Linked DNA regions of Homo sapiens: region 2 is linked to region 1. The links are contacts of gene promoters, found by promoter capture Hi-C in human tissues and cell types (Jung and others, 2019). All regions are on one chromosome and are shown on one strand. The core of a region is centred on a gene start or on the middle of the fragment in contact, and the rest is flanking DNA. Distances in the headings are between cores, read along the strand shown.

Region 1 (4,913 bases), core at 1,622-4,121:
CAATTTATAGTGCTATTTCTCCTATAACCAGGATTCCTGGGTCTAGGGATCAAGGGGTGAAAATAGAGTTGCACCACTCACTATTATCCTTAGTGTCCCACTAGCTTCCTGTTCTTGTGGCATTATGCTCTGCTGGCTTAGAGATCTCAGTTCTGGAGGGAAGAATTCTTCCATCAGGGGACACGACAATAATTCCACTGAACTGGAAGTTAAGACTGCCACCTGGCCACCTTGGTCTCCTTGTGCTTCTGAGTCAACAGGCTAAGAAGGGAGTTATGGTGCTGGTTGGACTGACTGATCCACACTACCAAAGAGAACTTGGGCTACTATTCCATAATGGAGGCAAGGAAGAGTATGTCTGCAATACAAAAGATCCCTTAGTGTGTCTCTTAGTATTACTGTGTCCTGTGATTAAGATCAATGGAAAACTACAACCACCCAGTGCAGGTAGGACTACTAGTGACCCAGACCTTTATGGATCACTTTAGCAGGTAAAGAACCACAAGCAGCTGAGGTGCTTACTGAAGGCAAAGAAACTACAGAATGTGTAGTAGAAAAAGGGAGTTAAAAATACTGATTATGGGCCGGGCGCGGTGGCTCACGCCTGTAATCCCAGCACTTTGGGAGGCCGAGGCGGGCGGATCACGAGGTCAGGAGATCGAGACCATCCCGGCTAAAACGGTGAAACCCCGTCTCTACTAAAAATACAAAAAAAATTAGCCGGGCGTAGTGGCGGGCGCCTGTAGTCCCAGCTACTTGGGAGGCTGAGGCAGGAGAATGGCGTGAACCCGGGAGGCGGAGCTTGCAGTGAGCCGAGATCCCGCCACTGCACTCCAGCCTGGGCGACAGAGCGAGACTCCGTCTCAAAAAAAAAAAAAAAAAAAAAAAATACTGATTATGATGCTGTGATCAGTGCAGAAATGAAGACTGTAATAATTATGAGTATTTCCTTTTAATTTTGTTCTGAATACATTTCTTTGTGTATATATTAGATACCAAATATTTTTTCTTTTCTTATTCTCTTATCACATAATACAAAATGCAATGACTTCATATTCTAGTATTTAAGTATTGTTAATGTTACATCATAGTGTTTAAGTTACAGGACATCAAGGAAGAGAGTAAACATCACTGAAGGACTTTATCTCCTCCTCTGAGAAGGGTTTAGTGCATTTTCAGTTGTATGCAGGACATATGTTGGAACAGGAATTAAAAGAAATTAAAGAATGTGTAAGCAGAAACTCAGTTGTATGTAAGAAAACCCAATTCCCCAGAGAAAGAGAAAGAGCTGGAGTCCTTTAAAATTAACTGCCTGTTTTTCTGTGGCTAGTGAGCCTTATCTCTCCTCCTTTCCCAGGCATTGTGAAGACCCTGTTTCTCTAGCTGTGCAGCTGCAAGGTCACTAGACAGATAAACTCAAGTCATAAAACATGTTTTTCCTTGAAAAGTAAGAAATGATGTAATGCATGTTTCAATTAATTGAATAACTGTCTTTGTTTCTCACTTCTGTAATATGCTTCCCCCTACACAGATCTCCCCCACCCCACGAAATGATTAAAAGATAACTCTTTGTTCAGGGCTCAGTCCTTTGGAGGTTAATCCAACTGGGCCGGTGCACCTAAATAATAAATATCCTTCTCAACCCCATCGGTCTCTCTGATTCCTTATCAATCCCACTACATTTCAACATGTTAAATGGAATTATGAGCTTCTTATTGACTTTATTTGGAGATTAACTATGGCTTAAGGATATGTATATGGGTGCCAAATTTTCAACGTGGGAACTCATTATGGTTAGTTAATATTACGTGTCAAACTGAGTGAGCCATAGGATGCCCAGATATCTGGTAAACATTATTTTGGGGTATGTCTGTGAGGGTATTTCCAGAAGAGATTAGCATTTAAATTGGTGTTCTGATGATAGGAGATGACACTCCCTAATGTGGGTCAACATCTTCCAATCCATTGAGGGCCTGAATAAAACAAGAAGGCAGAAGAATGCTTAGTTTTCTCTTTGCCTGACTACTTGACTTGGGACACAAATCTGCTGCCCTCGGTGCTCTGGTTCTCAGATCCTCAGAACCAGGCTGGAATTTTTATCATCAACTCTCTTGCTCTCAGGCCTTCAAACTGCACCATTGGATCTCCTGGGTCTCTGTCTTGCAGAAAGCAGAATCCAGGACTTCCTAGCTTCTATTATTGTGTAAACCAATACCTTATAATAAATATATTTATCTATATAGTTGTGGTTTCTCTCATCCTTACTAATAAGATAATCCTTACTAGTAAGGCATGAAGTTAGGAGATTAATGAATAAAGACAAATTCTTCCAATTGCCAACTTTGGCAAGATTTCTGGATGAGGGCCCATAGTAATGTAATTTTCTTTTTCTTTTCTTTTTTTTTTTTTTTTTTTTTTTTTTGTCTCACTCTGTTGCCAGGCTGGAGTGCAGTAGCATGATCTCGGCTCACTGCAACCTCCACCTCCCGAGTTCAAGTGATTCTCCTGCCTCAGCCTCCTGAGTAGCTGGGATTACAGGCACCCGCCACCACACCCAGCTAATTTTTGTATTTTTAGTAGAGATGGGGTTTCACCAAGTTGCCTAGGGTGGTCTCGACCTCCTGACCTCATGATCCGCCCACAGCCTCCCAAAGTGCTGGGATTACAGGTGTGAGCCACCATACCTGGGCCATAACGTAATTTTCTAATGTATTCATGGTTCTTTTTCTTAACAGAACAAAAATTAAGAAAAGTAGTCAGGATTAGAAAAAAAGACAAGCTTTTGAATGACAGAAATATTAATAGGAATTCACTTACATATTTGTAACTTCTCTGTAATCACGGTGAGACAAAGTAGTGAAGAGAAACTCTAGTATATTACCTCTTAGCCAAAGGTAAAATACTCTAGGTAGTTATCAACCAAGCAAATTCTTTGAAATGTTGACACTCGTCATGGCAACCATATGTTTCAAAGATTCCATTCTGGAATGAATGTGGTAGAATGTCCTGGCATGCCCAAGTGGCTACTAATGCTCACCTGTCATTATTGAGGGGTGGGTAAGTTTCTGGTTTCTATGTTACAAGCACTGAAAGATAGTTCTTCAGACCAACAGTCCAGTAGAAGCTGGGCAAAGGATAAGAATAGAAAATTCACAGAAAAGGAAAACTGAATGGCCAATAAATATTTTAAAAGATTTTTAATCTCACTTGAAGTTATGAAAATACAAACCATTAAAATATTATTTCCCAGCTAATAAGTTAAAAAGTACTAAAATACAAGTAAAAATTAAAAAAAGATAATTTCAAATATTGGCAAAGATAAAAGAAAGTTGAACTTTCTCACACGACTGGTGGGATTATAAATGGATATAACTAGTTTGTAGAGAAACTTGTCAAGTTCTAGCAAAACTGAAAATCTACAACCCAGAATTTCCAGTTCTAGGTCCATAGAGTGTATAAACATGTATACAACTGATGCACTGAGAGACATGAAGGATGTTTATTGTAGCACTTTTTATAATAGAGTTATTAAAATATAATTCACATACCATAAAATTTATCTTAAAGTATATAATTCAATCATTTTAAATATATTTACAGAGGTATACAACCATCATTACTATCTAATTTTAGAACATTTTCATTTAGAACAAGCTCCAAAGAAACCCTGTACCTGTTAGCAGACATTCACCCTCCCTCTCCCCCAAGTACCTGGCAACCACTAATCTTCTGTCTGCCTTCTGGACATTTTATGTAAATAGATTTATACAATATGTGACTTTTTATGATTAGACTGTTTGGATTTTTATTACTGAGTTGTGATTTTTTAATATGTTCTAGATGCTAGTCTCTTATCAGATACATAATTTGCAAATATTCCTCCTTTTCTATGGGCTGCCTTTACATTTTCTTGACAGTGTCTCTTGAAGCACAAAAGTTTTAAATTTAAGTGAAATTTAAATTTGCCATTCTTTTTCTTTTATTGCTTGTGTTTTTGGTATCATAACTAAAAAAAAAGAAAAAGACATTGCCTGCATTCCCTGGCCCAACTTCACAGAGATTAGATTTAGAACTTTTCTAAGAGTTTTGTAGTTTTTGCCTTACATTTAGGTCTTTGGTTCATTCTGAATTAGTTTTAGTATATAGTGTGAGGTAGAGGTCTAATTTTATCTTATTTTTTGCATCTGGATATTCACTTGTCTCAGTACAATTTGTTAAAAAGATGATTCTTTTCCTGATTGTCTCCACATCTTTGTAAAAAATGAATTGACTAAAATGGTTTATTTCTGAACTCAATTTTATCCCATTAATCTATATGTTTTTCCTATACTGGTAGCACACTGTGGTGATTTCTGTGTCTTTGTAGTAAGTTTTGAAATCAAGAAGTGTGAATTTTCAAACTTTGTTTGTTCTAGGGTCACAATTATAACATTAGCCTAAAACAATGTAGTTTGAATTAATATCAATTTAGTTTCAATAACATACAAAGGTTTTGCTCCAGTATACCTGGTTTCCTCCTTCATTTTTTCTGCTATTATTGCCATGCACATTATATATATTCATGTTATACATACATATATTTAAACATTATAATCCCACCAACCCAGTTTTATAATTATTGCTTTAAGCTGTTTTCTTTTAAACATAATAGGAGAACAAAACCAAATAATTTTATTCTACCTCTGTAGTTTATGAGTGTGCTCTCTGTGTAGACTTGAGTGACTAGCTAGTATTCTTTTATTTCAGCGTGAGACAATATCTTCAGTATTTCTGGTAGGGCAGATCTGCTAGAAAAACAATCTTACTTTATTTGTGAATACTTAATTTTTCCTTTCTTTCTTTCCCTTCCTTCCTTTCTTTCTCTTTTCTTTCTTTCTTTCTTTCTTTCTTTCTTTCTTTCTTTTTTTTTGAAG
Region 2 (4,913 bases), core at 833-3,332, 410 kb after region 1:
GCTTTTCTGGAGAACTTTCTCTTATTGGTTCCTATTTTTAGTTCCATGTCATCAAAATTTAATTTGTATAATTTAAATCCTTTTAAATTTATTAAGACTTCTTAAATGTCTCATAATATAGTTTCCCTTTAATTTTTTTTTTTTTTTTGGAGTTTCGCTCTTGTTGCCCAGGCTGGAGTGCAATGGCATGATCTCAGCTCACTGCAACCTCTGCCTCCCAGGTTCAAGTGATTCTCCTGCCTCAGCCTCCTGAGTAGCTGGGATTACAGGCATGCACCACCACGCCCAGCTAATTTTTGTATTTTTAGTAGAGACGGGGTTTCTCCATGTTGGTGAGGTTGGTCTTGAACCCCCGACCTCAGGTGATCTGCCTGCCTCAGCCTCCCAAGATTAGGTTTTTAAGTCCTCTATAGCCTTACTCATTTTCTGACTCCTTGTACTATTATTTATTGAGAGATGAGAAATATCCTATTATAACTGTAGATTTGTTCATTAATCCTTGCAGTTATCTCAGTTTTGTTTCATGTATCTTGAAACTCTGTTATAATAATAACAGGTGAATAAATGTTTGTGTTTGTATGTCTTCTTGATTCTTAGACTCATTTATCATAATGAAATGATCTTTTTCTTCCCCCTAATTTTGGTCTGAAATCTACTTTATCTGATATTAATATAGCCACTGTAACTTTCTTTTGCTAAATATTAGCCTTGGTATATCTTTTTCCTCTTTCCTTTTTCTAATGACTGTATCTATTTCCTTTATAAACTTATTAGCTATATTCTTTGTTTTGTTATTTTAGTAATTGCTCTAGGGTTTGGTATGTATTTTTAACTTATCATAGTCTATCTTCAGGTAGTATCATACCACATGTACTATAAGAACCTTATAAATATACACCTCTGCTTTTTCTCTCCTGGCCTTTATGCTATTGTTTCATACCTTTCATTTATACGTATGTCTTAAAATCCACACTGCAATGTTATCATTTTTGCTAAAATAGTAAGTTAACTTTTAAACAGATTTAAATAAAAATATATATTTACACATGTAGATAAAATTTCCTGTGTTCTTCACTTCTTTGTGTAGATTCATATTTCCACCAGGCATCATTTTCATTCTACCTGATGGGCTTTTTTTTTTTTTTTCTTTTTTAGTATTTCTTACAGTGTAGGTCTGCTGCTGATTAATTCTTTCAGCTTTCATCTGTAGGAAAAGTCTTTATTTTGCCTTAGTTTTCGAAAGACATTTCACTAGACATAAAATTCTAGTTTAACTTTTTTTAAAAAATTACTTTATTCTCTTCCACTCTTCTAGTTTGCATTGTTTCTGATGAGAAATTTGTATCATCACCTTTGCTCCTTACATAATGGGTGTTTTTTCTCTGTCTTTTAAGATTTTTACTTTATCACTGTTTTTGATCAATTTGAATATGATGTACCATGGTATAGTGTGTAGCTTCCTTGCTTTCTTTTTTTTTTTTCTTCTTTTTCTTTCTCTTTCTGTCTTCCTTTTTTTCTCTCTTTGTCTTTCTTTCCTTTTCTCTTTCTTTCTTTCTTTTTCTCTTCTTTCTTTCATTCTTTCTTTTTGTACTTCGGGTTCTTTGAGATACTTGAATGTCTGGGTTTATAGTTTTCATCAAATTTGAAAGTTTTCTGACCATTATTTCCTTAAATATATTATTGTTCTCCCTTCCTTTTTCCTCTTCTTTTGGGGCTTCCATTACATGTTAGCTACTTGAAGTTTTCCTGTAGCTCACTGATGGTCATTTCATTTTTAACATCTTTTTCTCTCTCTTTACTTCATTTTGTATAGTTTCTATTGCTACATCTTTAAGTTCACTAATATTTTTAATAATTTTTTCTCTAATGTCTAATCTTTTATTAATTGAATCTAGTATATTTTTTTATTACAGACGTTGTAGTTCTCATCTCAAGATATTCAATTTAGATAGTTTTTATATCTTTGATTATTTAAGGTATTTTTATATCTTTTCAACATATGGAATACAGGAATGACAAATATTAATATCCATGTCTGCTGATTCTAATAACTATGTTAGTTCTAGGTAAGTTTCAATTGATTAATCTTTTTACTCATTATTTTTATTTTCCTACTTCTTTGCATGACTGGTAATCTTTTGTTTGGTTCAAGACATTGTCAGTTTTACCTTGTTGGGTGCTAGCTATTTTTCTTTTCCTATAAATATTTTTGAGCTTTGTTCTGAGATACACTTAAGTTACTTGAAAATAGGCTTATCTTTTTGAGCCTTGATTTTGGAATTTGTGACATAACCAAAGCAATGGTTAGTCAAGGACTAATTATTCAATGATTAGTCAGGGACTAATTATTTCCTGCTACTAATGCAAGAATCTTCTGAATACTCTACCAAATGCTCTGGGAATTGTAAAGGTTTCCAGTCTGATTGATGGGAACAGGCACTATGCCTGGTCTGGTGTTTTTGCATAGTTCTTTCCCTGGTGTTTTATCCCATTTTGTGCTGCCATATCAGAATACTACAGACTGGGTAATTTATAAATAATAGAAATTTATTTCACAGTTCTGGAGGCTGGGAAATATAAGGTCAAGGTGCCAACAGGTTTGGTGTTGGTAATGGCCTGGTGTTCACTTCCAAGATGGCTGTTAAACATGACGTCCTTTGAAGGGGAGAAAAACTGTTCCTCACATGATAGAAGAGTGGAAGGGCCAAGCAAGGGAGAACCCACTCCTGGAAGCCCTTTTATAAAGGCATTAAACCCGCCCATGCAGATGGAGCCCTTGTGACATAATCGCCTCTTAAAGGCTGTACCTTCCAAAACCATTTTGTTGGCAATTAAATTTTAACATGTGTTTTGGAAGGGACAAACAGTCAAATCATAGCTTCTGGCTCATGTAGTTTCCTCACTTATATGTGCTGATCACCTTGAGGGAGACTGTCTGCTGGTCTCCATGATTCTTCTTCTATGCAGCTCACTCCTTTCTGATACCTCGTCATACAAATTCTAGTTTCCTTGCTCTTCTTGCAGTCTGAGCTTCACCTCCTCAAGTAGGAGTCCTCTAGGATTTGTCCAGTCCCTCCCCTGCCACATGCTGTGGCCTGAGGACTCTCAAGGCAGTCAACTGGGGAAATCATAGGTCTTGCCTCAATTTTTTTCTCATCTCTTAGAGATCACTGTCCTTGGTTGCCTGATATCCTGTCTCTTGAAAACTATTGTTATTCTATTTATTTGTTTATTTTGGGTTTAGAAGGAAACATAAATTAAGTCCCTGTTACTTACTCTGTTTTTGTCAAAAGGGCAAGTCCCAGCAAAGTTTCAACTATTATTCCATTTTGTAGATGAGGAAACTGAGGCACCAAGAGATTAAGTTAGTTGTCCAAGCTTTCACAGCTTGTTAGTCATAGAGCTAGAATTCAAATATTAGCTCTTGAATACTTGAGCAGTATAACTTCAGAATTTACAATTTTAACTACTACTATCTACTTTCATATTACTTCTAAGCTTGCTAAGAACTGGGCAAACATTTCATTAAATGTTTATGTAGCTCATATGAGCAGAATGTGGATGACTAATGGTCCTTAACTCCACATCCCCATGATATTTGCATTTTCAAAAGAATATGCTTATTTATTCAGTATGCTTGTTTATCACATACTATTAAATATATGATAGAAATATGTATTCTAACAAAGAAAAATGAGAAATATTTATGAAGTGTAGCAGAAGCTGTTTTTAGTTATTAACTCTTCCAGTTTCCCTCTACCTTGGAATTTTCTGGCTTGGTTTTCCTAAGTTATTCTTAATTTTTGCCAATTTCTCTTAATCCATTCTCAGACTATTACCAATGGATTAAAAGTTTCCCTTTTTTAAACCTTTGTATCCATTCATCAAAGACTGGGAAAATGGTGGTTATTTGTATGTAAATCACTTAAAAATGAAGAGCTACAAGTAATTTAACAGCTTGCATTTTCCTTTGGGAAGCATTCAGAGATCTTTTCCAATAGCTTTCGGATTCCAATTTGTTCTTTTTTGTTAGAACTTTTGTCTGTCCCTGAGTGCATAACTATTAGGTAGGCAGGAGAGATATGTGGGAAAGTACTTTTTTTTTTTTTTTTTTTTTTACTGCTGCATTACAGGTAACTAGAAACAGTGCTGGAGATGGTGGCTGAATATTGTTGAATGAATGAGTGGATGGATGGATGAATCAAGCTGGTGGCCAGCTAGAGGAGCCTAAGGGAGACTAGACTAGACTGGGCAAACATACGCTGTAGACAGCATATTCAGACTGAAGTGAATACCCAGCACCCAGGCAATTGAGTCTTGACTATATTGTGTTCTGGCTTTGGGATATGGTTATGTTCTACTTACATTTGAATACAGTTGCATTTTGATTTCATCTAAAATAAGGAAATCATACTGATGACTCAGAAGATACAAGAAAATTGAGTTTCTCCTGTCTTTTACTTATGCTGTCTTCACTGGAACATTTTAAATATGTATTTCAATGAAGAGGCAATTCCATTTAAGTGAACTAGTATTTCAAGCATTTTTAAAAAACAAAAACACATAAAAAGCATTAACTAGAACTGCCAGGCAAAATAGCCCTCCTGTTTAATAGTTTCCATCAGTCCTCAGTTTAATTACCACATTATTCTGCCAGCTTTCTCCAGAAATAATTGACTGAATGAAGTCATTTCATTTGATATTTACAAACACTAGACTTGTAAAGGGGGTATCTGTCAATTCCCCCTTGGCTTGGAAATGACTAAGGCTGACCTGGCAGTACACAACTGCTATTTTGGGCTCAGCATATTTTCATAGTCACCAACTCAGTAAGATGATGGGAAAGAAAGAGAGGCAGGTAAAACTTTTGGCATTTGTGCTCAGTTTTCTAATTTTGTAATTTTTGCTGTGAA

What was found. Contacts are between HindIII fragments. The study calls those that stand out against the background at their distance.
Region 2: a fragment that was not itself captured here is called in contact with the fragment with the promoter of MROH9 in region 1 in 2 of the 25 tissues and cell types used here (aorta and hippocampus).

The regions. Positions count from the first base shown.
Region 1 is chr1:170,933,492-170,938,404 of GRCh38, reverse strand. It overlaps MROH9 (maestro heat like repeat family member 9), which reads right to left and starts at 2,871. Exons shown (of 22, transcript NM_001163629.2): 1 at 2,818-2,871. The HindIII fragment of the contact is 10,538 bases long and covers 257-4,913 here.
Region 2 is chr1:170,520,642-170,525,554 of GRCh38, reverse strand. All of the region lies in intron 1 of GORAB-AS1 (GORAB antisense RNA 1), which reads left to right. Among named protein-coding and RNA genes, the nearest start is that of GORAB, 9.1 kb to the left of the region's middle. The HindIII fragment of the contact is 7,437 bases long and covers 1-4,913 here.